5 separate regions of the Homo sapiens genome follow, and regions 1, 3, 4 and 5 are each linked to region 2. The links are contacts of gene promoters, found by promoter capture Hi-C in blood cells and fetal thymus (Javierre and others, 2016). All regions are on one chromosome and are shown on one strand. The core of a region is centred on a gene start or on the middle of the fragment in contact, and the rest is flanking DNA. Distances in the headings are between cores, read along the strand shown. Region 1 overlaps CLP1 (cleavage factor polyribonucleotide kinase subunit 1). Region 2 holds the start of RTN4RL2 (reticulon 4 receptor like 2). Region 3 has its middle 6.7 kb from the start of SERPING1. Region 4 has its middle 12 kb from the start of MIR130AHG. Region 5 overlaps ZDHHC5 (zDHHC palmitoyltransferase 5).

Evidence for each region. The method cuts DNA at HindIII sites, captures the fragments that hold promoters and counts their contacts. A CHiCAGO score of 5 or more calls a contact.
Region 1: a contact is called between a fragment that was not itself captured here and the fragment with the promoter of RTN4RL2 in region 2, in 6 of 17 cell types (neutrophils, M0 macrophages, M1 macrophages and 3 more). The highest score is 7.6, in neutrophils.
Region 3: a fragment that was not itself captured here is called in contact with the fragment with the promoter of RTN4RL2 in region 2 in 1 of 17 cell types (neutrophils); the score reaches 5.8 in neutrophils.
Region 4: a fragment that was not itself captured here is called in contact with the fragment with the promoter of RTN4RL2 in region 2 in 2 of 17 cell types (neutrophils and monocytes); the score reaches 7.4 in neutrophils.
Region 5: a fragment that was not itself captured here is called in contact with the fragment with the promoter of RTN4RL2 in region 2 in 3 of 17 cell types (neutrophils, M0 macrophages and activated CD4 T cells); the score reaches 6.7 in neutrophils.

Annotation. Positions count from the first base shown.
Region 1 is chr11:57,661,728-57,666,710 of GRCh38, forward strand. CLP1 (cleavage factor polyribonucleotide kinase subunit 1) reads left to right here. Exons shown (of 3, transcript NM_006831.3): 3 at 1-138. Among named protein-coding and RNA genes, the nearest start is that of ZDHHC5, 3.9 kb to the right of the region's middle. RefSeq lists a silencer at 1,214-1,283. The HindIII fragment of the contact is 2,607 bases long and covers 1,255-3,861 here.
Region 2 is chr11:57,458,891-57,463,921 of GRCh38, forward strand. It overlaps RTN4RL2 (reticulon 4 receptor like 2), which reads left to right and starts at 1,638. Exons shown (of 3, transcript NM_178570.3): 1 at 1,638-2,006. The coding sequence starts at 1,976. RefSeq lists silencers at 486-545, 1,645-1,914 and enhancers at 3,350-3,888, 4,978-5,031. The HindIII fragment of the contact is 14,932 bases long and covers 1-5,031 here.
Region 3 is chr11:57,588,371-57,593,634 of GRCh38, forward strand. No RefSeq gene overlaps it. Among named protein-coding and RNA genes, the nearest start is that of SERPING1, 6.7 kb to the right of the region's middle. The HindIII fragment of the contact is 5,530 bases long and covers 1-4,376 here.
Region 4 is chr11:57,624,415-57,629,330 of GRCh38, forward strand. No RefSeq gene overlaps it. Among named protein-coding and RNA genes, the nearest start is that of MIR130AHG, 12 kb to the right of the region's middle. The HindIII fragment of the contact is 8,519 bases long and covers 1-4,916 here.
Region 5 is chr11:57,699,635-57,705,241 of GRCh38, forward strand. ZDHHC5 (zDHHC palmitoyltransferase 5) reads left to right here. Exons shown (of 12, transcript NM_015457.3): 12 at 232-1,548. The coding sequence ends at 397. MED19 (mediator complex subunit 19) reads right to left here. Exons shown (of 5, transcript NM_001317078.4): 2 at 5,339-5,595; 3 at 5,085-5,181; 4 at 4,668-4,762; 5 at 4,076-4,472. The coding sequence ends at 4,404. Among named protein-coding and RNA genes, the nearest start is that of MED19, 9.8 kb to the right of the region's middle. RefSeq lists an enhancer at 4,501-5,607. The HindIII fragment of the contact is 1,747 bases long and covers 1,921-3,667 here.

The DNA.
Region 1 (4,983 bases), core at 1,308-3,807, 200 kb after region 2:
TTAAAAAATCAATGCTTTATATTCCATATGTGGTTCTTACCCATTTATCTAGGATGAAAGTGTGAATTAGAGGGACTCCTTCCAATAAAGTTCAAACTTAAAAAAAATCATTTTAATAAATATTTTTGCCATATCATAGAAGTTGGTATAATTTATTTTTTTCCCCTAAGCGTTATAGAAACATAATTGGAATGATTTATTGCTAAAATGCTTGGAGGAGGGGAAAACCAAGAAACCTACCTGTGAGCCACGTCAGGTTTTTTTTTTTGGTGGTGGTGGTGGTTGTTTTTGTAAGAGTCTCACACTGTCACCTGGGCTGGAGTGCAGTGGCGTGATCTTGGCTCACTGCAACCTCTGCCTCCCAGGTTCAAGTGATTCTCCTGCCTCAGCCTCCCAAATAGCTGGGGTTACAGGTGCCCGCCACCACGCCCAGCTAATTTTTTGTATTTCTTTTAGTAGGGACAGGGTTTCACTATGTTGGCCAGGCTGGTCTCAAACTCCTGACCTCATGATCTGCCTGCCTCGGCCTCCCAAAATGCTGGGATTACAGGTGTGAGACACTGTGCCCGGCTGTGAGTTCTTATGATAGTTCACCTTTCCTCTGCGCTTAGGTAAGTAGATGGTAAATCTGCTGTCAGTGCTGGATTTACTGTGGGGAGTTAGAGGCTGGTGATAATCTTGGAATGAGATTTCATATCTAATCATTTTCCAGAGATAGCTCATTTTCCTTCCAGTACAGCTATCCTTGTCTATTTGATTGGAACTAGGCCCTAAGTCAAAGTGTAACTTAAGCTTTCAGGTGGTAAGAAACTGGGAAAGCCCATTCTTTTTGATCTCTTGCAAATGACTGTTTGGTGTCCCTGGTTTGCACTTGGATTACTTAAGTATCTGATGCCATTCATCCATTCCTTCTTTTCATAAATGTTTACTGAGGACTGACTGTTTGTCAGGAGCCACTGTAGATGGGGAACAAGACAGACAAAAGTTTTATGGAGCTTACATTATAGAATAAACAAATTTAAAAAGGCAAGTGCTATGCAGAGACTTAAATTTGGGGGATATGAGACAGAGTGACTGGAGGCTACTTTAGATTGGGTGGTCAGGAAAGGCCCTTCCTGAGCATACATTTTGGGCTAAGACTTGAATGGCTGTGTGAAGTCTGGGGCAAAACCTTCCTGGTGAGAAAAAACTGCAAAACCCTAATAAAGGAACAAGCTTGATGAGTTTGGTGAAGAGAAAAGCCAGTGTGGTTGAAGCTTAGTGAACCAAGAAAGACTGTACAAGATGAGGCTGGAGGGGGCAGCAAAGACCAGATAATGTAGGGCTTTTGTAAACCACGGTGAAGAATGGATTTTTTGGCCCAGGTGCCATGGGTGGTGGCCATGCCTTTAACCCCAGCCACTCAGGAGTCTGAGAATCCCTTGAACCCAAGAGGTGGAGGTGCAGAAAGCCGAGATTGCATCACTGCATTCCAGTCTAGGTGACAGAAGGACACTCTGTCTCAAAAAAAGAAAAGGATTTTTTATTTCTTTTTAAGAGATAGGGATCTCAGCCGGGCGTGGTGGCTCATGCCTGTAATCCCAGCACTTTGGGAGGCTGAGGTGGCTGGATCACTTGGGGTCAGGAGTTCGAGACCAGCCTGACCAACATGGTGAAACCCCATCTCTACTAAAAATGCAAAAAAAATTTAGTTGAGCGTGGTGGCACATGCTTGTAATCCCAGTTACTTGGGAGGTTGAGGCAAGAGAATTGCTTGAACCCGGGAGGTGGAGGTTGCCGTGAGCCAAGATCACGCCACTGCACTCCAGCCTAGGCAATAAGAGCGAAACTCTGACTCAAAAAAAAAAAAAAAAAAAAAGAGATGGGGCGTGTCTCACTATGTTGCCCAAGCTGGCTTTGAACTTCTGGGCTTAAGTGATCCGCCCACCTTAGTCTCCTGAGTAGCTGGGACTACAGGCTCATGCCACAGCACCTGGTTTAAGAATGGATTTTACTCTTAAGAGCAATGGGAACCAGAGGGGAGGGGTAGTTAAGTAGAGTAATTATTTGATCTTTTTTTTTTTGGGGGGGGACAGAGTTTCATTCTTGTTGCCCAGGCTGGAGTGCAATGGCGCAATCTGGCTCAGTGCAACCTCCACCTCCCAGGTTCAAGCGAGTCTCCTGCCTCAGCCTCCCGAGTAGCTGGGATTACAGGCATGCGCCACCATGCCCGGCTAATTTTGTGTTTTTAGTATAGATGGGGTTTCTCCGTGTTGGTCAGGTTTGTCTCCGACTCCCGACTTCAGGTGATCCGCCCGCCTAGGCCTCCCAAAGTGTGGGATTACAGGCGTAAGCCAGCACGCCCGGCTGATCTCCTCCCTCCCTTCCCTCTTTCTTTCTTCCTTTCCTTTCTTTTCCTTTCCTTTCCTTTCCTCTTTCCTCTCTCCCTCCTTCCTGCTCTCTTTTTCTTCTCTCTTTTTTCTTCTCTTTTTCATTCCTTCCCCTTCCTTCCTATTCCTTCCTTTCCTTTCCTTCCCTCACCTCCTCTCCTCTCTCCTCCCCTTCCCTCCCCCTTTCCTTCCCTCCTTCTGAGTTTTGCTATGTTGCCCAGGCTAGAGTGCTGTGGCATGACCTCGGTGCACTGCAACCTCTGCCTCCTGGGTTCAAGTTATTCTCCTGCCTCAGCCTCCTGAGTAGCTGAGTAGCATGCACCACCATGCCTGGCGAATTTTTGTATTTTTAGTAGAGATGGGGTTTTGCCATGTTGGCCAGGCTGGTCTCGAACTCCTGACCTCAAGTGATCCATCCGCCTCGGACTCCCAAAGTGCTGGGATTAGCCTGGCTGATTACTTTACATTTTGAAAAGATCACTGCTTTGTGGAGAGTGGGTTATAGGGCAAGTGTAAAAGCAAGGACAGTAATTAGGAGAGTTTTGTAAAAGTGCAAATGTGAGAAATGGTGGGGGATGAAATACTAGGGCAGCAGAGGTAGAGCTGGTGAGAGGATATTCTGAAGGCAGGACTTCATAACGGAGTGGTGAGGAAAACGATGGAATCAAGGATGCATCCTGGATTTTTTTTAACAAGACACACTAGGTTAGACATGAGATTGGGAAAACTCAGGGAGTTGTCCCCCTGAGGGACAAGGGAAACTCGAGGTTTTTGGCAGTGTTAAATATGAGCTATTAATTGTCCATGGGTGGCGGAGGTTGCAGTGAGCTGAGATCGCGTCACTGCACTCCAGCCTGGGTAACAGAGCAAGACTCCATCCCCCAGCACCAGAAAAAATGCAGGAGCGAAGGAGATAGGATCCACAGCACAAAGGGAAGAACTACCCTTTAACACATACAGAGACATTTCACAAGGACAGGAGGAAAGAGCAGTATTTAAACACAAAGAGGTTGACCAGGAGCAGTGGCTCAGACCTGTAATCCCAGCACTTTGGGAGGTCGAGGCAGGCAGATCACTTGAGCTCAGCAGTTGGAGACTACCCTGGCCAACATGGTGAAACCCTAAAAACACAAAAATTGGGAAATGCATGTTCTAGCTTTCTGTGTGCTTAGGTGCCCATGCTACTGAGGGTCTAAGTCCAGGCAGCCGAAGAGTGTGGTGAGCAAGATGAACAAAGATGCGCAGATGAGAGAAGCCATTAACATATTAAAGTAATTTAAAGTTTGGGTGGTCTGGATATCATACTGTTTTAGCCTAGATTTTACTCTGGATACTTTTCAGAAGTAGCTGGCACTTTAAACCATATGTTCTATTAAACGTTCTTTCCAAGAAATATCTTGAGTGATCCCAAGGAAAACTGGACAAGTGGAATCTCTGTCTTTCAACTTTGGGATAGTGATTATACCTCTGTTAGTGCTCATCCACCTAACAAAGCTTGGCAATCCAAGTTAGTATCCCAGGGGAGTTTAGTTTGGTTGGATGGTGGAAGACTGATTTTTTTTTTCCATTTAGCACTGTCTAGCCAAGAGACACCACTATTTACAAGTTCTTAGACAGCTGAAAGGAAAATAAAAATGCCTAATTTGTGGAGGAAATCAGGAAGTCTAAAAATCCAAGAAAAATATTGCAACAGAAAAATGAAAGCTGACTTCATCTTAAAGAAACATGGCTTACAGGTAGAAAATGCCAATATCAGGCCGGGCACTGTGGCTCACACCGGTAATCTCAGCACTTTGGGAGGCCGAGGTGGGAGGATCATTTGAGGTCAGGAGTTCCAGACCAATGTGGCCATCATGGTGAAACCCCATCTCTACTAAAAATACAAATATTAGCCAGGTGTGGTGGCACATGCCTGTGATCCCAGCTACTCAGGAGGCTGAGGCATGAGAATTGCTTGAACCCGGGAGGAGGTTGCCATGAGCTGAGATCGCGCCACTGCACTCCAGCCTGGGTGACAGTGTGAGACTCCCTCTCAAAAAGTAAAAAATAAAATATCAATATTGTATCTTCAATAATTTACCTTTCATATGGTCTAAAGAGGTTTTTGTTTTGTTTTGAGACGGAGTCTTGCTCTGTTGCCCAGGCTGGAGTGAAGTTGTGTGGTCTCGGCTCACGGCAACCTCTGCCTCCCGGGTTGAAGCAATTCTCCTGCCTCAGCCTCCCGAGTAGCTGGGATTACAGGCTCCCCCGACCATGCCCGACTAATTTTTGTATTTTTAGTAGAGGGAGTTTCACTATGTTGGCCAGGCTGGTCTTGAGCACCTGACCTCGTGATCCGCCTGCCTTGGCCTCCCAAAGTGCTGGGATTACAGGTGTGAACCACCACGCCAGGCCAGGTCTGTTTTAAAAATATAAAGTCGTTATAAAGAACTCTCAAGTGTGTTGCAATAAATGCTGGATTGACGCTGTTAACAAGAATAAACTAGAACTTATAATATATGCCATGTCAGAGAAGGAACTAGATTCCAGAAAACAGAAGGTAGTTCTCTTTTACCTTACTGCCTAATGCTAGTGTCAGAACCACAGTAAAGCCAGCAACATTTGAGACCAAACC
Region 2 (5,031 bases), core at 388-2,887:
CCTGGGAATGAAACTGGGGAAGAGGGGGAGAGAAAGGGAGGCAGAGACACCGAGACACACAGAGACGAGAGACAGAGACGCAGGGAGCCCCGCGGGGAGGAGGAGAGAGACGAAGACACAGAGAGACAGTGAGAAAGACAGAAGACCGGGCAGGGAAACAGACGAGTAGAGACAGAAAAGGTCCGAGAGAGAGTGAGGGAGGGAGGGAACAGAGAGACAGAGACCACGAAATATGAGTAAGAGTCGGGGGAGAAAACCAGAGAAATCGAATGAGAACGCGAGAAGAACGAGAGACCGTGGAGGGAGCAGAGAATGAATGGGAAGAATAAGACCAACATTTATCAAGAGCCGACTGTATGCCAGGCACTGCATTGGACCCTGGCACGGATAGGAAAGGAGGAGCCGCGGCGCGGGCAGCGGGGCGAGGGGCTTCTGTGCTCGCGGGAGCGGCAGCCCAGGGGGCTCAGCAGCCCCGGCACCGCCGCACCTGAGGCTCCAGCAGCCCCAACCCCGCCAGCGCTGCCTGGCCACCGTACCCGAAGCGGCTCCCCCGAGGGCCCCGAGCCTATCCTACGCCGGGGCGGCTCCGCGGACGCGCCGGGCCGAGTCAAGACCTGGGTCAACCGCCCTGCAGCCTTTGTAGGGAAGTGCCTAGGTGATGGGTCTGCTGATACCGCCTGTGACCAGGCCATGAAGGGCCAGAGGGGCTCCAGTGAGACCATAATCCGCCCCTCTTTAAAAGGGGGTAGAGGAAGTTCACGCGAAGCCAACAGTCTTCTCCCCAGCTTTGGGTCCTCTCCTGCACCCCCGCGGGAGATAAGGTCTCCCCTCCCGGACACATCATACATACACAAAAAAACGCACACACTCGCACGCGCGCCCATCTCGCACCCGCTTGTAAATGCACTAAGGGGCATACACACACCGGGCACATATTTCTTTCCACCCATCCCCAAGATCGCAAGCGCAAAACCTCGCACAGCCTCACGTTTCCCACCAGCTCAGACATGCACGCTGGCGGACTTTCAGCGGCTCACCCGTGTGCACACTCACGTGCCCCCCCCCCCGCTTCCCCAAGCCCGTACAAAGGGTAACGGGCAAGCATCCTGAGTCACACCTGCACAAGCATCCTTGCGCGCACGTGCACGCTCATATGCACTCGATCTTGCACGCACAAACTCTTGCATATACTATTCTTATAGTCGCACACTGGGCTTGAGGTCTGGGAGTGGAAGGAAAAGTGGAATCTTGGAGCTGTCCCAGGGGACAGAAATGCTGGAGGCTGGGACACTGGCGCGAGGGACGCGGCTGGGGGCGGGGGAGGGGGTGACCCAGAAGCTCATCTTCTCCTGGAAAGTTGGGAGGGGGGAACAGGACAAGTCCACGGCGTTCCTCTAAACTACCGCATTCCCCCAAGAAGGGATTTCTCTAGAAGAGTGGCGCCGCGAGGACGATCGAACACAGTCCTCCGGGTCGCTTAAGCGGGGGGGAGGGGGGCGGGGTGGAGGGGGTTAGAAAGCCGCTCCCGCCTCCTAGTGGTCGAGAAAGGGTTAAGTCGGCAAGCCAGCAAACGAGGGAGGAGCCAGCGAGTGCGGGAAGGAGTGGGGGTGGTTGGGAAGAGCTTCCTCGCTGTCCCCACTCTCCCTCGGCTAGCAGCCTGGGCACACGGACAGACGGACTGACGGACTCTCGAGCGGACAGCGCAGCTAGCGGGGCGCGGGCGCTGGGCGTCGACGGCCAGCCCCAGCCTTCCCCGCCCCGTCGCGCCCCGCCCCGTCCCGTCGGGGCCGATGGCTCCTCCCGAGGCCCGCAGCCCGGGCGGCGCAGGGTAGAGCGCCGCGGCCCGGCCACGCAGCCCGGGGACTCCCGGGCCCTCCCGGAGCCCCGCGGGGTCCCCGCCGTGCATCCGGCGGGCTCAGGGAGCGAGTGGGAGCGCCCTCCCCCCGCTGCCCCCTCCCCCGAGCATCGAGACAAGATGCTGCCCGGGCTCAGGCGCCTGCTGCAAGGTAAGAACGCCAGCGGCGGGAGAGCGGAGGGCATCCTGGGGAGAGAAGCAGGGCGTCCCCTCTTTCAGGGATTGAGGGTGGGGCAGTTGGGGAGGTGGGGTAACCTGGGGAAGGGGAAAAGCTCAGCGCTGGGGCCGCGCCCCCGCCGCCAGGGCTGTTCTCAGCAGGAGGGCACTTGGCTGGGAGCCCGCGGGCGCGTGCGAGGAGCTCGTGACCGAGGTGGGACGCAGGGGGCAGGTGGACCCGGCCCGGAGCGGGGAGGGAGGCTCAGGTTCCGCTGTCCCCGCTCCACCTGCTCCGGGGGACGCTGAGGACTCGGGCCGGCTGGGGAAGCGCCGACTCAGCAACTCCTCCTGCCCGGTGCCTCAGCACTTTCTGGCCACCTGGGAAGACAGGAGATGTGGGTAGGGGGCTGTCTGGGGAGGTAGGAGGCGCAGAGGGAAATCCAAGTGGCCCTCTCTGGTAGGAGAGATGGAGGGCGCTAGAAAGAGGATAGTTCTACTGATTGAGTGACAGATAAGGGTGTGGGCCAGAGACTGGGGGTGGGGTGGGGAGGGGTCAGGGGGAGAGGGATAGGAAGGAGAACTCAAAGATGGAGAAAGTGGTGAGGGAAGCTCAAAGGAGGAGGGAGATGGAGCGGGGGAGGGGGAGAAGGAATAAAGGTTAGATGGGAAAAGCGTGGAGGGAAGTGGGACCCAGGTGAAGACCAAGGAAGAGGGAAGGAGAGGAAAGACCAGATCAGGGGAGGGATGGGAAGAAGACTATGGACAGGGACCCAGAATCCTGGGATGGAGGTAGCGGGAAAGAGAATCAGGACTGGGACCCTGGGGACTGGAATGGAAAAGGAGAATGGAAAGATCAGAAACCAGAGAAGGATGGGGATGGTGACTAGAGAAGGGGTATCAGGAACCGGCGAAGAGGGTTGGAGACAGGGAACCATGGATGGGAGAGGGGCTGGAGAGGAGGGAAGAGGAGGAGGAAGAGAAAGGCTGAGAGAGAGGGACTGGGGATTGGGGGTGCTGCCCAGGGATGAGACAAAGAGGCTTCTGGTAACCACTTCCACGTGGGAAGCCCTCCATTCCCAAAGCGCCTGCCTGCCACATTTCTTCTCTCAGGGAGTGGCTGGTGGGCCAGATGGGGGGTGCTTTGAGCTCAGGGCCCTGGGGGTGGCTGTGAGGGACAGAGGGTGAGGACTTTGGAAGGGGAGTGACAGCCTCCGAGGGTGGGCAAACAGGCTGGCTCCTGTGCTGCCATTTATTTATCCGGCCTGGACGTTGGATTCTGCAGCCGCTGCCGCCACCACGGTGGCTGCTTATTTTGGGGTGTTACATTCTGGCAGAGTGAGAAGCTGTTTGCAGCAGCTCTAAACCTCCGTCACCCGCGTCAGTGCCTCCCCAGGCCCCTGCGTCACTGGCATCACCACCACCTCCATCCCACTCCTCAGCTCCCACCTCCTCAGCCCCTGCCCCCTCAGCATCTGCCCGCAGGCCCCAGCCCTTCCCTGAAGCAGCCCGTTGGGTGTGGAGCCCTTGCTTCTCGTCTGGGACCCTGTGCCCCTCCTTCCAGAGCGAGAGGCCTCTGCTGCCTTTCCAGGGAGCATCCTTTCCTGGGACCACTCTGCACCAGCGACTCTGCCCTGTGGGTGGGTAGCCTGGATCCTGCCCCCTACTTTGGGTCCAGTTTTCTTCTCCTCAAGTTCCTTCTTCTACAGGGGCCTCCGGCCCAAAGAGTGGCCTGTGGGCTGAGAACTTTGTTTCTGAGCCTTGGTACTCCAAGGTTTGATAGCCAGAGTCCTGGACAGTGGTCCCTCAGTGAACAGATACTTTTGGCTCTGGACACTTCAGCCTTCCGGGATCAATACCATGTTCTGGCCTCTCTTGGCTCCCTCCCCTGGTCAGTTCTGGCCATATATTCTGGACAGGGGTCATCTCTTCTTGACTCCCACATGTAATCACTACTCTAGAACAACCGCAACTGGAAGCCTAGGAGGTGAAAGTTGCAGAGAGAGCTGGAGTCCCTTCCTTGCCTTGACCCTGAATAGCCAAACAGACTCAGCATTGTGGCTGGCCCAGCCCTAGGCACCTGGGTGCAATTTCTCTCCTGTCTTTACCTCAAGGGCAGTGTCTCACACATTCAGGCGTGGTTTCTGCGGAGGATGTGGCCACCTCTTAAAGAAAGATCAGAGTGTCTCTCTGACATGGGCTTGATGTCCCTCTTTTCCAATCTGGGTTCCACCTTGTACTAGCTGCATGACCTGAGGCCACTGTGTCATGTTTCTGGGGCTCCCTTCCTTCATCTGCAAATTGGGGGCCACAATATTGACCTCCAGGGGATTATGTGTGTTGTGTTCAATGTATAAAGAAGTTAACCTGTACAAATGCAGTGCCTAGGACAAAATAGGTGCTTCTTGGTTTCCTCCTACCCTGCTGTACTCTCCCCTGCAGCTCTAGCCATCCCCTGCTGACTTTAGAGGAGGGGGTGAGCAGAGAGGGTGGGGGAGGCTGCTACAAAGGGCTTTCCTCTGTCCATGAAGTAGTGGAGGGATGAAATGAAGGCTTCTGAGAAAGACAATGAAGGCGAGCTGTAGAGACCTGGTCAGGAGGCCTGGGGTGCTCAGAAACTCACACTTCCCCTCCCCAGCCCTCAATGGTGTTACCTATGATGTGAGGGGTCGGCTCTAGGTGGCCACCGAGGTATCCCCCTTTCCAGCTCTGATACTCTGTGCATCTTGCCCCAGTCTCCACCGGGAATTCACAAAATGAAGGCCAGGAGTGGAGCCGTGGTCCTCGGGAGAGACAGGAGGCCTGGGCCTGGAGGGAAGGAGTGGTGGTGCTGAGGAGGAGTGAGAACAGGGGGTGGGGAAGGGACGTGGCAAGAAAGAAAAGGGCACACACTGGGCAGGGCAGGGACTGAGGGCGGGGGAGAGAGGGAAAGGCACAGCTCTCTAGTCCCCCAACCCCCCAGTCCCACCACCTCTGCCCTGGAGTGCTCGCTCCAGCCCCAGCAGGCCTGGGGCAGTGAAGCC
Region 3 (5,264 bases), core at 362-2,861, 130 kb after region 2:
TTTTCTTTATAAATTACCCAGTCTCAGGTAGTTCTTTATAGCAATGTGAGAATGGACTAATACAGATATTCTAGAAACTTTCAGAAGGCCAGGCACTAGATGTAATAAGAGGAGTTGTGTAATACAAGCAGAGGTTGGACAGGGAGGCAGAGGTCAGCTTGGACCTAGTCTTGTAGGCCAGGGTCAAAAGTTTAGATTTTATTACAAGAGTGAAGAGAAAGGCTCATAAGTGACTTCTTATAAGAGTGGTCTCCTGGCTGGGTGCGGTAGCTCGCCTGTAATCCCAGCAGTTTGGGAGGCTGAGGTGAGTGGATCACCTGAAGTCAGGAGTGTGAGACCAGCCTGGCCAACCCCGTCTCAACTAAAAAATAAAAATAAAAAATAAAAAATTATCCTGGCATGGTGGTGGGCACCTGTAATCCCAGCTACTTGGGAGGCTGAGGCATGAGAATCGCTTGAACCCAGGAGGCAGAAGTTGCAGTGAGCTGAGATTGTGCCACCGCACTCCAGCCTGGGCAATTGAGCGAGACCCTGTCTCAAAAAAAAAAAAAAAAAGGTCTCCCATGGAAAACCAATTTATATTGATTATCATGTATTATATTATATTATATTAGTTATTATCATTCTGTCTGTGGATTGAAGAATATCTGGAAAGGACAGAGTGGAAGCATGGAAACCAGGCAGGAGGCTATTCAGTGGCCCAGGTGAGAGATGGTTGTGGCTAGATTGGGTTCATGGCCTCAATGATTGAGAGAACTGAGTGGATTCAGGATACATTTTGAAGATACTACCAAAAGGTCTGATGATGGGCTGGATGTAGGGAAAGATCAAGCTCCTCTAATCCCTCTGGGTGAGAGGCTATTTCAACTTCTACCACCTCCTATAGTGACCTGAGGTGGAGATAAAGGGCTCAAATTAGGACCCAAGATTAAAGACCTAAACCCAATCAAGTTCAAGGAACCTGGAACTGAAAAGTAAATACAAAATCTAAGACTTTTAGGCCAGTGATAAAACTAGGCCTTGTTACATAAAGGAGAGAGAAAATGAGGCCCAGAAATTATTGTTTCTTTTTTCGAGACAGAGTCTTGCTCTGTTGCCCAGGCTGGAGTGCAGTGGCATGATCTCAGCTCACTGCAACCTCTGCCTCCCAGGTTCAAGCAATTCTCCTTCCTCAGCCTCCTGAGTAGCTGGGATTACAGGCACACACCACCATGTCTGGCTAATTTTTGTATTTTTAGTAGAAACAGGGTTTCACCATGTTGGCCAGGCTAGTCTCAAACTCCTGACCTCGTGATCTGCCTGCCTCAGCCTCCCAAAGGTCTGGGATTACAGGCATGAGCCACCGTGCCCTGCCACAAAAATGATTTTTTAATGACATAGATTGAACTAAAACATGCACTGTGTTCAATAGCAGAAAAAAAAAATCAAGATCCTGGAAATAAACAGAAATAGGTGGAATACGTCTTCAGAGCAAACTATATAACTGTATTAGTCTGTTTTCACACTGCTATAAAGAACTGCTCAAGACTGGGTAATTTCGAAAGGAAAGAGGTTTAGTTGACTCACAGTTGTGCATGGCTGGGGAGGCCTCAGGAGACTTACAATCATGGCAGAAGGTGAAGGGGAAGCAAGAAACCCTCTTCACAAGGTGGCAGGAAGAAGTGCTGAGCAAAGAGGGAAGAGCCCCTTATAAAACCATCAGATCTCGTGAGAACTCACTCACTATCAAGAGAACAGCATGTGGGAAACTGCCCCCATGATTCAATTGCTTCCACTTGGTCTCTCCTTTGACACATGGGGTTTATGAGGATTACAATTCAAGATGAGATTTGGGTGGGGACACAAAGCCTAAACATATCAACAAGTATATTGAGAAACAGGCCAGGCGTGGTGGCTCCCACCTGTAATCCCAGCAGAGAAACATTAAGGAAGAGCCAAATAGTTGGAAAGCTATAACATGTTCATGGATTAGAAGACTTACTGTTATAAAGATGTCAATTCACTCCCAAAATGATCTATAGATGTAAGGTAATACCAGTCAAAATCCCAACATATTTTTCCCTTTTATTTTGTGGAGCCTGGTAAGCTGATTCTAAGTATATATGGAAATTCAGGGATCAAGAATAGCAGAGATCTTCTTGAAGAAGAATAAAATGTGAGGACTTGGTCTACTGAATATCAGAACTTAAACATGGTGCCGTCACAATTTTTTGTTGTTGTTGTTTTTGAGACAGAGTTTTGCTCTTGTTGCCCAGGCTCAACCTCTACCTCCCTGGTTCAAGTAATTCTCCCGCCTCAGCCTCTCAAGTAGCTGGGATTACAGGCATGCACCACCACACCCAGCTAATTTTGTATTTTTAGTAGAGACAGGGTTTCTATCTCTGCTAACACGTGAAACCCCATCTCTACTAAATATACAAAAAAAAAAAAAAATTAGCTGGGCGTGGTGGCAGACACCTGTAGTCCCAGCTACTTGTGAGGCTGAGGCAGGAGAATGGCGTGAACCTGGGAGGCGGAGCTTGCAGTGAGCCGAGATCATGCCACTGCACTCCAGCCTGGGCAACAGAGCAAGACTCTGTCTCCAAAAAAAAGAAAAGAAAAGAAAAGAAAAGTCTGTAACTGGAGAAGTGACCATGGGGCTTCATGTTCAAGTTGGGCAGAACAAGGAGGGTGGCTCCCTGTTTCTCAACAGGCATTGAGGAACGCAAGGTGAATTTTGGCTTTTCTGGAAGTGGAGCAGGCATTTTTACCCTCAGGAGAGGTGCATGGAAGCAGAAACAGCAGGTCAAAGCAAGGGGCCACAATCTGAATGGAGCCAAATTCACAGCTGAGTCAACAGTCCAAACCTAGCGCTTCCATCTACAGAGCTGGCAACGGAGAATTGGAAACAAAGGCTAGAAATAGAAAGGTAGCAGAGAAAGCAGGTACGCTGCTGTGCAAGAAGTGGAAAAGATAGTAAGTGAGAGGGAAACTTCTGGAACCGGCATGTAGTTAAGGGGATTGGTTTGGGAATCAATCCAAATGTCTCTCTCAGGGTGAGATCAAAGAAATAGTTTGTAATACATCCATACAATGGAATACCGTGCGGCTGTAAGAAAGAATGAGATAGAGCTGCCTGCAGTGACATGGAACAATGCCCATGCTACTTTATTAAGAAAAGAAATTAGGCCAGGCACAGTGGCTCATGCCTGTAATCCCAGCACTTTTGGAGGCCGAGGCGGGTGGATCACGAGGTCAGGAGATCGAGACCCATCCTGGCTAACACGGTGAAACCCCCTCTCTACTAAAAACACAAAAGAAATTAGCCGGGAGTGGTGGCGGGCGACTGCAGTCCCAGCTACTCGGGAGGCTGAGGCAGGAGAATGGCGTGAACCCTGGAGACAGCGCTTGCAGTGAGCCGAGATAGGGCCACTGCACTCCAGCCTGGGTGACAGAGCAAGACTCCCGTCTCAAAAAAAAGAAAAGAAATTATGGAAGAGTAATAATTATGTGTGTGGGGAGAGATGAAGTAGATATGATTTTATAAATAGGCAAATATAAAAGCATACACTCAGAATTATTAACAGCAGTTTTGTCTGTGGTAACTTTTAATTTTGTAAGTGTCTGAATTGTTAGAAACGTTTTGTTTTGTTTTGTTTTGTTTTGTTAGACAGAGTTTTGCTCTTGTTGCCCAGGCTGGAGTGCAATGGCACGATCTCGGCTCACTGCAAACTCCACCTCCTGGGTTCAAGCGATTCTCCTGCCTCAGCCTCCCGAGTAGTTGGGATTACAGGCATGTGCCACCATGTCCACCTAATTTTTGTATTTTTGGTAGAGACGGGGTTTCACCATGTTGGCCAGGCTGGTCTTGAACTCCTGACCTCAGGTGATCCATCCACTTGGGTCTCCCAAAGTGCTGGGATTACAGGCGTGAGCCACCACGCCCAGCCAGAAAAGTTTTACAAAGCACGTATATGACTTTGTAGCAATAACTTTGAAAGAATCATTTAATTTTTTTTTAGACAGGGTCTTGTTCTGTCGCCCAGGCTGGAGTGCAGTGGTGTGATCACGGCTCACTCCAGCCTCGAACTCCTAGGCTCAAGCAATCCTCCCACCTCAGCCTCTTGAGTAGCTGGGACTGCAGGCATGAGCCACCAAGCCTGGCTAATTTTTTTTATTTTTTGTGGAAACGGGGTTTTACCATGTTGTCCAGGCTGCTCTCAAACTCCTGGGCTCAAACAATCCCCCTGTCTCAGCCTCCCAAAGTGCTGGGATTACAGGCATGAGCCACTGCACCCAGGAAAAGAATAATTTTAAAGATCCTTAGAAAAATGATTGAATGGACCAATTTAGAATATCTATGAGGACTCATCAAATGTTTCTATTCTACTCGAAGAAGCTTTGTATTCCTCGGCCTGCCAGGATCTGCAAATAGGGTGTGAGCCTGAGGTTTGGGGATTTTGTGTCTCAACACTTATTTGGATCTCATCTCTGTCTTCATCTCTGATCCCCATCCACCTCCTCATACCAGTTAAAGACTGAAGGGAAGAGGAAGAGAAGAGGGTCGTTAGTGGAAGGGTACTGTGCATGAGGACTCTCTAGTGAGGTTCCTGGGAAGGTCCAGTCCCTGGAGAGCTGGGCAGGAAACAGCCCATGTGAATGAGTCAGGGCTGGTGAGAAAGGGAATCAGTGAAGAAGGTGGGGATACAGTGGGAGCAGGAACCCCCACAGCTCCCTCACTCATGGCTGCCAAACCTGTGCCCTTCTCCGGAGAGGACTACTGTATTTGTAGGAAATAAGGGACAAAGTTCAGCCTGTGGTCCGTTCTTACTTACAAAGCATCAACAGCCCCACGTAAAGGGTGTGCCACAACATAATTCTCAAAATGGTAGAACTGTCATTCTCACACAAATACACAGTGAGAACCTTCACAAGATAACTGTCAGGATGACAAAGTTGGTTCAAAGAATGATTTGAGAAACTGGTGTGTGTGTGTGTGTGTGTGTGTGTGTGTGTGTGTGTGTGCTGGAATAACACAGCTAAGTTACCTACAAAACTGGCTATTGCCCTGCAGGCCAACAAGACTGAAATAGGAGGTAGGACTCAACTCCCGAGGTGGGGCTCAGATACCAACCAGATTGAGGACTAGCTAAAACAGGGCCAGGGCAGAAGCAGTTTTCCATAAGATTTGCCAGCCAGTCCGCCATGTCAGTTTACCATTGCCATGGAAACACCTGGGAGTCACTGCCTCTTTCCATGGCAATGACCTGATGATCCAAAAGTTC
Region 4 (4,916 bases), core at 158-2,657, 170 kb after region 2:
TCATTATCCTCTGTTCTGAGCATGGAGCCTGGAACCTACAGAGTTGACACTCAGTACATATTAGCTAAAATAAAATGAAGCAAAACAAAACAGAACAAAAATGCATTTCCAGATCCTATTTATTTATTTATTTATTTATTTATTTATTTATTGAGACAGAGTTTCGCTCTGTTGCCCAGACTGGAGTGCAGTGGCACGATCTTAGCTCACTGCAACCTCTGGCCTCCTGGGTTCAAGTGATTCTCTTGCCTCAGCCTCCCAAGTAGCTGGGATTAGAGGCACACGCCACCACGCCCGACTAATTTTTGCATTTTTAGTAGAGACAGGGTTTCACCACGTTGGCCAGGCTGGTCTCGAACTCCTGACCTCAAGTGATCTGCCCGCCTTGGCCTCCCAAAGTGCTGGGATTACAGGCATGAGCCACCAGCCTGGTCTCTACAGATCCTGTTCATTTAAATGCTGCCATTCTTCTAAGCCCAGTGCAATTCTCCAACAGTGTTTTCTGCTTTTCCCAGCCAATAGCACCTCCTCCATCTTTAGACATAGTGCTGAACTTACACTGCCATGTAAAATCAGTAGCATGTACACAAATATTTGGCTTTCCCCTCCAACCACTAGGAAACTCCTTGTGAATCTGATTCAGGACATCTCTGGTCCCACCTATGCCTATAAATGGTCAGCAAACACTTTTGATTCAAAGTGTGCAGTGTCTATATTTGAGCAAAGTTTTGTTTTGTTTTGTTTCGTTTTGTTTAGAGACAAAGTTTTGCACTTGTTGCCCAGGCTGGAGTTGGCACAATCTTGGCTCACTGCAAGCTCCGCCTCCTGGGTTCAAGCAATTCTCCTGCCTCTGCCTCCCAAGTAGCTGGGATTACAGGCACCTGCCACCATGCCCGGCTAATTTTTTGTATTTTTAGTAGAGATGGGGTTTCACTACGTTGGCCAGGCTGCTCTCAAACTCCTGACCTCAGATGATCCACCCGCCTCAGCCTCCCAAAGTGCTGGGATTACAAGTGTGAGCCACCGCACATGGCCAAGCAAAGTTTTTTATTTTACAATGATGACATTAATGTTATTCTTATTTTATGTATCTCCTCTGGAGACTGGTGGAGCTAGGAATACCAAAGCATAGCTTCTCATAGTCATTATCAGCTAGGGTTTTGCCTTACAAATTATCTTTCAACTAGAGGAATTATACCTCTGTGTTTGGATGTTCTTTCCTCCTCCCTGCTGCCCCGTGTCTTTGATTCTTGGGATCAGGACTCCATGGCTTTAGTCAGAAGGGGTGAAGATGATTCTTACCCTTTAAGTAAGTAAGCACCTGGAGTCTGGAATTGTTCTAGGATTAAACAAGGCCACAGCCCTGTGAATTGCCTTATCTACTCAAATAGGCCGTCTAAAGAGAATCTATACTTTGTTATCGTCCTAGAGGCCTTCTTGCTTTCCACTAATTTATACATATTATCTACTGGCCAGGTGCGGTGGCTCACGCCTGTAATCCCAGAACTTTGGGAGGCCAAGGCGGGTGGATCACCTGAGGTCATGTGTTCAAGACCAGCCTGGCCAACATGGAGAAAGCCCATCCCTACTAAAAATACAAATATTAGTCAGGTGTGGTGGTGCACACCTGTAATCCCAGCTACTCAAGAGGCTGAAGCAGGAGAATCGCTAGAACCTGGGAGGCCAAGGTTGCAGTGAGCCGAGGTTTCCATTGGTTACTTGGTGTACGCCTTATGTAAATGAAGAGGATGAAGGAAAGTTACAAAGTCATTTACTCTGTGTACACCCTATGTAAACAAGAGGATATTTCCTGTCACAGCTGAAGTGTTTCCATTTGATTTAGTTCTAGAAAGTCCTTAGGTTCTCTGCCTCCAGGCCCTATTCTCCTGCCTCAATCATAGATCACTGCAGCCTTGAGGTCCTGGGCTCAAGCTCAGGTCCCACCTCAGCTTCCTGAGTAGCTGGGACCACAGGCCCGCACCACCATGCCCAGCTATTTTAATTTTTTTTTTTTTGAGATGGAATCTTGCTCTGTCGCCCAGGTTGGAGTGCAGTGTTGCGATCTCGGCTCACTGCAACCTCCGCCTCCTGGATTCAAGCAATTCTCTTGCCTCAGCCTCCCGAATAGCTGGGACTACAGGCGCCCACCACCACGCCCAGCTAATTTTCGTATTTTTAGTAGAGACGGGGTTTCACCATATTGGCCAGGCTGGTCTCGAACTCCTAACCTTATGATCCGCACGCCTCAGCCTCCTAAAGTCCTATTTTTTTTTTTTAAGAGGCCAGGTGTGGTGGCTCACACCTGTAATCCCAGCACTTTGGGAGGCCAAGGCGGGTGGATCCTCTGAGGTCAGGACTTCTGCCATTTTCCCATTCATTTATTCAAGTTTTAATTGAGTACTTACTTGTGCTAGGCACTGTTGTGGCAGCGGACAAACTGTTCAACAAGACAGAGCTCTTGTTCTCTGAACTTTAATGGACTGGTAATGTCTCCCTTCACTTCTCTCCATGTGATATGAAGTGTCCCAGTGTGTGTAGGGGATGTGGGAAAACAATTGAAATGTGGGGAAAATTTTGAAATGTGGCCGTGGAAGACTGATTTTCTCTTGCCTAAGATTTCCTTAGAATGTCCACTTTGGAGTAATGTGGGAGACAGTCCTGCCCTGGCTTATCTTGGGGTTTGGGATTAGGTCAGGGCTACATTATGAAATCAGTAAATTCTCCTAAGAATCCACAAACCAGACTAGTTCTTTCAGTTTCTCCAGGGTCCAAAGAGCTGTAGCTACCAAAAAGAGATCCCTGGCACTAATTAACTGGCAAATGTGGTAAGTTCACCACTGAGGACCTACATTTTCTAAACTAAAATCATGGCACAAGGTCTCAGAAGTCTCCATATTTATGGGATCCGCTAAAACTGAAAATTTTGAATCAAAGCTCTCCCCAAATATATTTGGAGAATAGAACATTGTAGTTATATTCACTAGGCTCATGACCCTAAAACCCTCTGGCTGGCTGGAAATTAGTCATGTCTAGCAGTCAATCAACGATTTTTCTAGCTAGGCCAAGGGTTCAGATTACTCCTCCTGAGAAACTTTCATTTGATCTGGGGAAATGTAAAAAGGAAAAATGAAAGGGCACAATCTCTGCTCTCAGGGAGCATCTTGGTCTGATGAGGAATTAGACACAAAATAATCATAACAGCACAGGTGGTAGGTGCAGCTAGACAGGCAACTCGGAATAAGTTTGGAAGGCCTTGAGTTCCATGCTAAGAAGTTTGGAATGTATCCTCTTGAAGAAGTTCTGACCTGGAGGAGATTAGAGCGTGTGTTGGGGGCAGTGGTATGTGAATGAACTCCAGAGGGTTCACGATCCCCTTGAGATGTATACCTGTATTAGTCCATTCTCACATTGCCATAAAGAACTACATAAGACTCGGTAATTTATGAAGAAAAGAGGTTTAATTGACTCACAGTTTTACAGGCTTAACAGGAAGCATGACTGTGAGGCCTTAGTTAATGTACAATGATGGCAGAAGTCGAAGGGGAAACAAGCTCCTTCTTCACATGGTGGCAGGAGAGAGAGAGAGCAAGGGGAGAAAGGCTACACAAGTTTAAACCATCAGATCTTGTGAGAACTCAATCACTATCACCAGAACAGCAAGGGGGAAATCCACCCCCATGATCCAATCTCCTCCCACCAGGTTCCTCCCCCAACACTGGGAATTATAATTCAACATGAGATTTCAATGGGGACAGGGAGCCAAACCATATCAATACCGTAATACAAAAAAAAAACAAAAAACATTTTTCTAGAAAGAGTCACCCATAGGTTTCATCAGCTTTTTTTTTTTAAGTGTCCGTGATCCAATAATGTTTAGGAAGCATTATCTAAATACTAGGGGCCAGGCATGGTGGCTCACACCTGTAATCCCAGCACTTTGGGAGGCTGAGGAGGGCAAATCACCTGAGGCCAGGAGTTCGAGACCAGCCTGGCCAACATGGCAAAACCCTGTCTCTACTAAAAAAATACAAAAATTAGGCCAGGTGTGGTCACTCACACCTGTAATCCCAGCACTTCGGGAGGCCGAAGAGGGCGGATCACTTGAGGTCAGGAGTTGGAGACCAGCCTGGCCAACATGGCGAAATCCCATCTCCACTAAAAATACAAAAATTAGCTGGGTGTGGTGGCAAGCGCCTATAGTCCCAGCTACTCCAGAGGCTGAGGCAGGAGAATCGCTTGAACCCGGGAGGCAGAAGTTGCGGTGAGCTGAGATTGCATCACTGCACTCCAGCCTGGGCAACAGAGTGAGACCCTGTCTCAAAAAATAAAATAAATTAAAATAAATAAATACTAGAGAGCCATCATAATTCGGGACACACGAATGATCTGAGGTTTGTGTTTTAGACTTACACGCTGATGGAATGGGACTTGAAAGGAAAGTTATTCAGAGGATGACACAAACCCTCAAGGGGCAGGGGAATGGAGAGAAAAGGAGTCATCTAAGAGGTAGAATGCACAGGATTTAGGGCAATTTGGGTGAAGGTGGCAGAGAGTAAGAGAAGTAAGGATTAGAATTATGATTGCAACCCTAAGATAAAAGATGTAAAAGAAATTTTGATTGACTTTGAAACACAAATTCTTTTAATCTGCCTGGAGATAGAAAGTTTCACAAATCAAACCCCAGGTGTCTTCTGATCCACAAGGTCATCAGGCAGTTTCTCAGAATTTCATTTTAGTACGTGGTGTATTCAGATAGGAGAGTCAGATACACTACTATCCTCTAAATCATGTGACTCCACAGCCAGAAATTCTGTAAGATTCTAATAGCCTAGAGTAACTTGTTTATCAGTATTTAAGATCATGTTTCATGGGACACTCCAATCTGCAACCCATGTTGCATGGGCTACTCCTCCTTA
Region 5 (5,607 bases), core at 1,544-4,043, 240 kb after region 2:
TATTTGCTTGGGAGTAAGTACATGTGATAGCTGTTACTAGAGAGTAGTAGTACATAGGAGAGATTGGGAATCAGGCTTATTTTAAGCAGGGCAATAAAGGGGAATGTTTGGGTAAGAAAGTATGGATATAGAAAAGAACATCATTTTTTTCTCTGAACCTTTGAAACTGTCTCCCTTTCCAATGTTTTCTGTCCCATTTCCTGACACCTACGTCTTGTCTCTTCTTTCCAGAGATGAAGTACAGCTGAAGACCACCTACAGCAAATCCAACGGGCAGCCCAAGAGCTTAGGCTCAGCCTCCCCTGGCCCAGGCCAGCCACCTCTCAGTAGCCCCACGAGGGGAGGAGTCAAGAAGGTGTCAGGGGTTGGTGGTACCACCTATGAGATTTCGGTGTGAGCCTTCGGCACCTCCCCTCCCCAACGCCTCTGCGCCTACACCAAAGGGCCCCAGGTGGCCACCTTCCTTCCCTCAAGGGGCTCCCCTCCCGTGCATGGACATTTTTTAAACCACCGATTCCAAGAGGATGAGGAGTGTTTTCTAAAATGCAGTAGGCTTGGGGAGTCGGAGAGTTGGGGCCCTGAGACTGGGGTAGCAACCCCCCCTTTTATCTTTTAAGACCTTCCCTTCCTTGATCCCTGGACCAGACTCAGTGGACATTTGTGCAATTGCTCGCCCTGGAGGGAACCAGATCATTTTTAAACCAGAAATAATTTTTTTTATTATTGTTACGGATTCTATTTTTTTCCTCTTCTGCGTTACCAGGTGTGTGTGTACATATAATATATATATATATATATTATAAATATCAAAGAAATTATATATCTATCCTGGGATGGGAAAATGAGGGAGGGATACATATACGGAGGGGGATCTTACTCTTCCCATTCCTCAGACCAGCAGGAAAAGAGGGGAGACGTCAGTCTTTTTCCTGTGGTTCCCTCTCATTTGTCCCAGTTACTAACTACGGAAATAGCATCCTCTGCTGGTGCTAAGTGTGATTAGGAAGAAGCCTGGGGAGAGGTGAGTCTGGAATTTTGGTCACAAGAGGGAAGGACTTGGAGAGGAGAATTAGTTTTCTAGGCTCATTGGCATTTAGTTTCCCTAGGAAAGGGGTCAAAACTTCAAGACACTGGTGGTGGTGGGAGATCAGGAAAATAACTTGGCCTAGCTCAAACAATATTGGATAATCCCCTCCTTGGGGGAGAGGGATTAGAGTGTGCTCCTACTGGCCCCTTGGAGCCTCCCCTAGCTTACACAGTTAACTTGATTTTAAAATCCAAGGCCAGGAGAGAAGAATCCAAAAAGCAATATTTTTCATCACATGCCAAAAACGGGGGATAGAGAGAAGGAGTGGCAGGCCTAGGCCCCTCCGATTGTCCCTTGGGGGTTACCCCTCAGCCCACCTCACTATGGTGCTGGGTAGAGGGGATACCTGGGTTCTAACCTCTAAATAGGGGAGATCCCAGCCTCCACAAAGAGGCCCTTTTATTTTTTATTCTGATTAGCCATTTTAAACCAACGAGGAATAAAAAGAAATCCTGATCTAACCAGCGCCCCCTGACTTGTGTTATTTTGTCTGGTTGAGACAGGGTGAACGATCTCTGGTGGGAAGTTATCAGTGACAACCTCATAAACTTCTCTGGTCCCAGCCCATCTTTAGGCAAGACTATAATGAAATTAGCCACTTAACAACTAAAAAAATAAAAAAGAGACCCAGTGCGGTGGCTTATACCTGTAATCCCAGCACTGAGGGAGGCTGAGGCAAGAGGATCACTTGAGCCCAGGAGTTCCAGACCAACCTGGGCAACATAGAGACTCCATTTCTAAAAACAACAGGTCCTGTTTTTATTTGGGTGATTTAATTCAAAAATTCCTGAAAAAAGGTCTCTTGAAATCACCAAAACTGCTTGTTATTTGAAAGCTTAGAGAACTCTTAAAAGTTGTTTCTTTCAAGAGACAGGGCCTCATTCTGGTTGCCCAGGCTGGAGGGCAGTGGCACAATCAGATCACTATATCCTCAAATTCCTGGGCTCAAGGGATCTTCCCACCTCAGCCTTCTGTGAAGCTAGGACTTACAGTTGCATGCCACCATGCTTAGCTAATTTTTTTTTTTTTGGTAGAGATAGACTCTCAACCAATTTTGCCCAGACTGATCTCGAACTTCTGGCCTTGAGCAATCCTGCCTTGGCCTCCCAAAGCATTGGGATTACAGGCATGAGCCACCATGCCCAGCTACAGTTGTTTTTTAATACAGGATTTAGTCTCTGGAAAGTAAAGCTAATTTTGGAAACAGCCAAAGGTGACATAGTAACAGGTATGAAAGCCTGTTGAAGGCAGGTTAACTAGATATCGGTGTCAGTTCAATTAGATATATTGCATTTTATTGGACAAAAGCTGTGCTCTAATTTTAAATAGGTATCCTTAGACACTAAATCTCAAGCAGTTGACCAGAGCCCTTTAATTACTCAAAATTTAAGAATATAAGCTCTTAGCCGGGCGTGGTGGCTCACGCCTGTAGTCCCAGCACTTTGGGAGGCCGAAGCGGGCTGATCACAATGTCAGGAGATCGAGACCATCCTGGCTAACACAGTGAAACCCCATCTCTACTAAAAATAACAAAAAACTAGCCTGGCGTGGTGCGGGCGCCTGTAGTCCCAGCTACTTGGGAGGCTGAGGCAGGAGAACGGCGTGAACCTGGGAGGCGGAGCTTGCAGTGAGCCGAGATCACGCCACTGCACTCCAGCCTGGGTGACAGAGCAAGACTCCGTCTCAGGAAAAAAAAAAAAAAAAAAAAAAAAAAAAATATATATATATATATATACTCTTATTTGGGTGCAGTAGCTCACACCTGTAATCCCAGCACCTTGGGAGGCTAAGGCAGGTGGATCACCTGAGGTCAGGAGTTCAAGACCAGCTTGGCCAAAATGGTGAAACCCCGTCTGTACTAAAAATGCAAAAATTAGCTGGGCGTTGGTTATGGGTGCCTGTAATCCTGGCTATTTGGGAAGCTGAGGTGGGAGAATCACCTGAACCCAGGAGGTGCAGGTTGCAGTGAGCTGAGATTGCACTACTACACTCCAACATGGGCGACAGAGCAAGACTCTTTCTCCAAAATTTAAAAAAAAAAAAAAAAAAAAAATATATATATATATATACAAAAATTAGCCAGGTGTGGTGACGCACACTTGTAGTCCCAGCTACTTGGGAGGCTGAGGTACAAGAATCACTTGAACCCAGGAGGCAGAGGTTGCCGTGAGCCGAGATCATGCCACTGCACTCCTGGGCAACAGAGCAAGACTCTGTCTCAAAAAAAAAAAAAAAAAAAAAAAAACCCAGCAAACTCTTATTCTGAAATCCTGGATTTAAACCAGCTGAATGAGTGGTTTTCCACCCACTGATTCAGGAACAACCTTGGCTTTCACGGCAACAGATTTTAACTGTGTTAAATTTAAAGTCAGATTACATTAATTCAGGTTTTCTCATGGATGTTTTCAGTTACCTAACCAGCTGGAAAAACTAAAAGTGTTTTTTGTTTTTGTTTTTCACATTTTGATGGTTTAGGCTACATTTTGTTGCTGTTTTAGAAATGTTTTCACATCAGCTAAATAACTTTATTGTCTTAACTAAGGACCGAAGCAGGTCAAAAGTTCTTGTAAAGAGAAGGGAAGCTTTACCTTTGCTTGCCAGAAGTTCATCTCAAAAGATCACAGGCTTCTGACCTAAAGAACCAATCTTGTTGAAACACATGGGTGACTGTCCATGTGTTTTCAGTTGGCTATTCTCTTTCGACACAAAATTGACCTAGAATACACTGTTGAGCCCTACCTGGATCAGCTCTTCAGATGGAGCCTGAGATCACCGAGGCGCTTGGTTCTCAACATAATGGGCAGAGTGTTACGTGTCTGCTGTGGAGTATTAGTAAGCTTGGGTCACTTTTCATTTTGGTTGGTTCCCTGCCTGCTAGTGAGATCATGTAATGACAAGACCCAAATCCCCTCAAGTCTTAGGAATGCCTTGTCTTAAATCCTGATTCACAGAAAGGCACATACCTCTTAACAGGCAGTCACACTTCAGCCAGTTTGATAAATGTAATTTTTTTTTTTTTAAAGAAAACACAGAACAAGTCCTAAATCAGACAAATTGCACAAAAGAGAGAGAAGAAAATTGTAAGCTTCCTGGGAGAGGAAGAGATGTCCATGAGAAAACCAACTGGGATGAGCCTACAAAAGCATGTCCCTCTCTCTCCTAATTTACTTAGTCTCAACTGAGCCCAACAGGAGCTGGCCTCTGTCCCAGCTGCAGGATGCTCCCAAGGCAGTGTCCAAGAGCCTGGAAGGCAGCTTTTATCAGCAGGTTCAGTACAGCAGGAAAAGCCATCCTGGCAAAGAGTCCAGTGGTCCTATTAGCGTAGGCTGCTGCTGCTGCTGGCCTGGGAGCTGCCCATACCTGGGTGGTCTGGACTATGTCGATTCTGGGGGAGAAAGAAGCAGGGTAAGAACAACTAGGAACTAGCCTTGGCTTTGATCAGGCTGTACAGGAGAAACCTGCAACCTGCCTTGGGTTTTCAATCTTGGGTCCAACTTGAGGCAAAGAACTCTAGGGTATTTAGGACAGGGGTGAGATCTGGGGAAACTCACTGGGTTGTGGCAATAGGCCTCTACTCTACCTTCTTTTTCTTCTTCTCTTTCTTCTTCCTTTTCCGTTCAGGATCCTCTTCTTTTTTCTTTTTCTTCTTCTTGTGATCTGAATCAGATGGTGTTTCTGTAGGAGACATTAGGTACCTATCACCTGTAAAGCTCAAAATCCTCTACTGTTATGAACCACTGAAGACTACAGGAAAATCCCAAGTCGGGGCAACTGCTTTTGTCCAAATGGCCAGAAAGGATACAGAGGTGCTGCTAGAGTCCCTGTCCCAAGTCCCAAGAGACCACAGTACATTGGTTTCTTCTTCAGGGGAATTTAGGAGTCCAGAGCTCCATACGGAACTTAACTGGGTTTACCTATGGAAGTTCAAACCAGATTCAGAAGGTCAGGTTTTTTTTTTTTTTTTTTTTTTTTTGCTTTGAATAGAACTGCTTCTTACCTGGGGGGACAGGATCCTGGGTACGGCTCTGTTTGTGCTTGTGCTTATTCTTCTTCTTGGGAGGCTGAATATGCATCAGACGACACTGCTCCGGCAACTGAAGGAACCAAAGGAAGGTCCAGGTGAGTAGAGGGAGGAAATCTCTCCTGCTCTTATCATCCATTCTGCTCCATTATGAAGGAACAGACTTGGAGAGAAAAACCATCTCCATGTTTAGGCCTCCCCATTTGCCTTCTTCCTCCAACAGGACTCACCGGGCCAGTGTGGAGGCGGAAGCCGGCCAGCATGGTCCCTGTGATAGGATTGAAAGAGCTACTGAGAATAGGGGGCTTCTCAATGAGAGAGCGGAGGCTGCTGTTATCATGGGAACCAGGCAGATCAATCATCCCTGGCAGGTCAGGCAGGAAGTTACTTAGCTTCTCCTTCACCTTCTTCCCACAGAATTTATTATAGGCTTGTTCCAAGTTGTAGTGTGTGATCAGATTCGTGCTGCCTGTCAGCTCTGTGCTACCTAGACAACGCA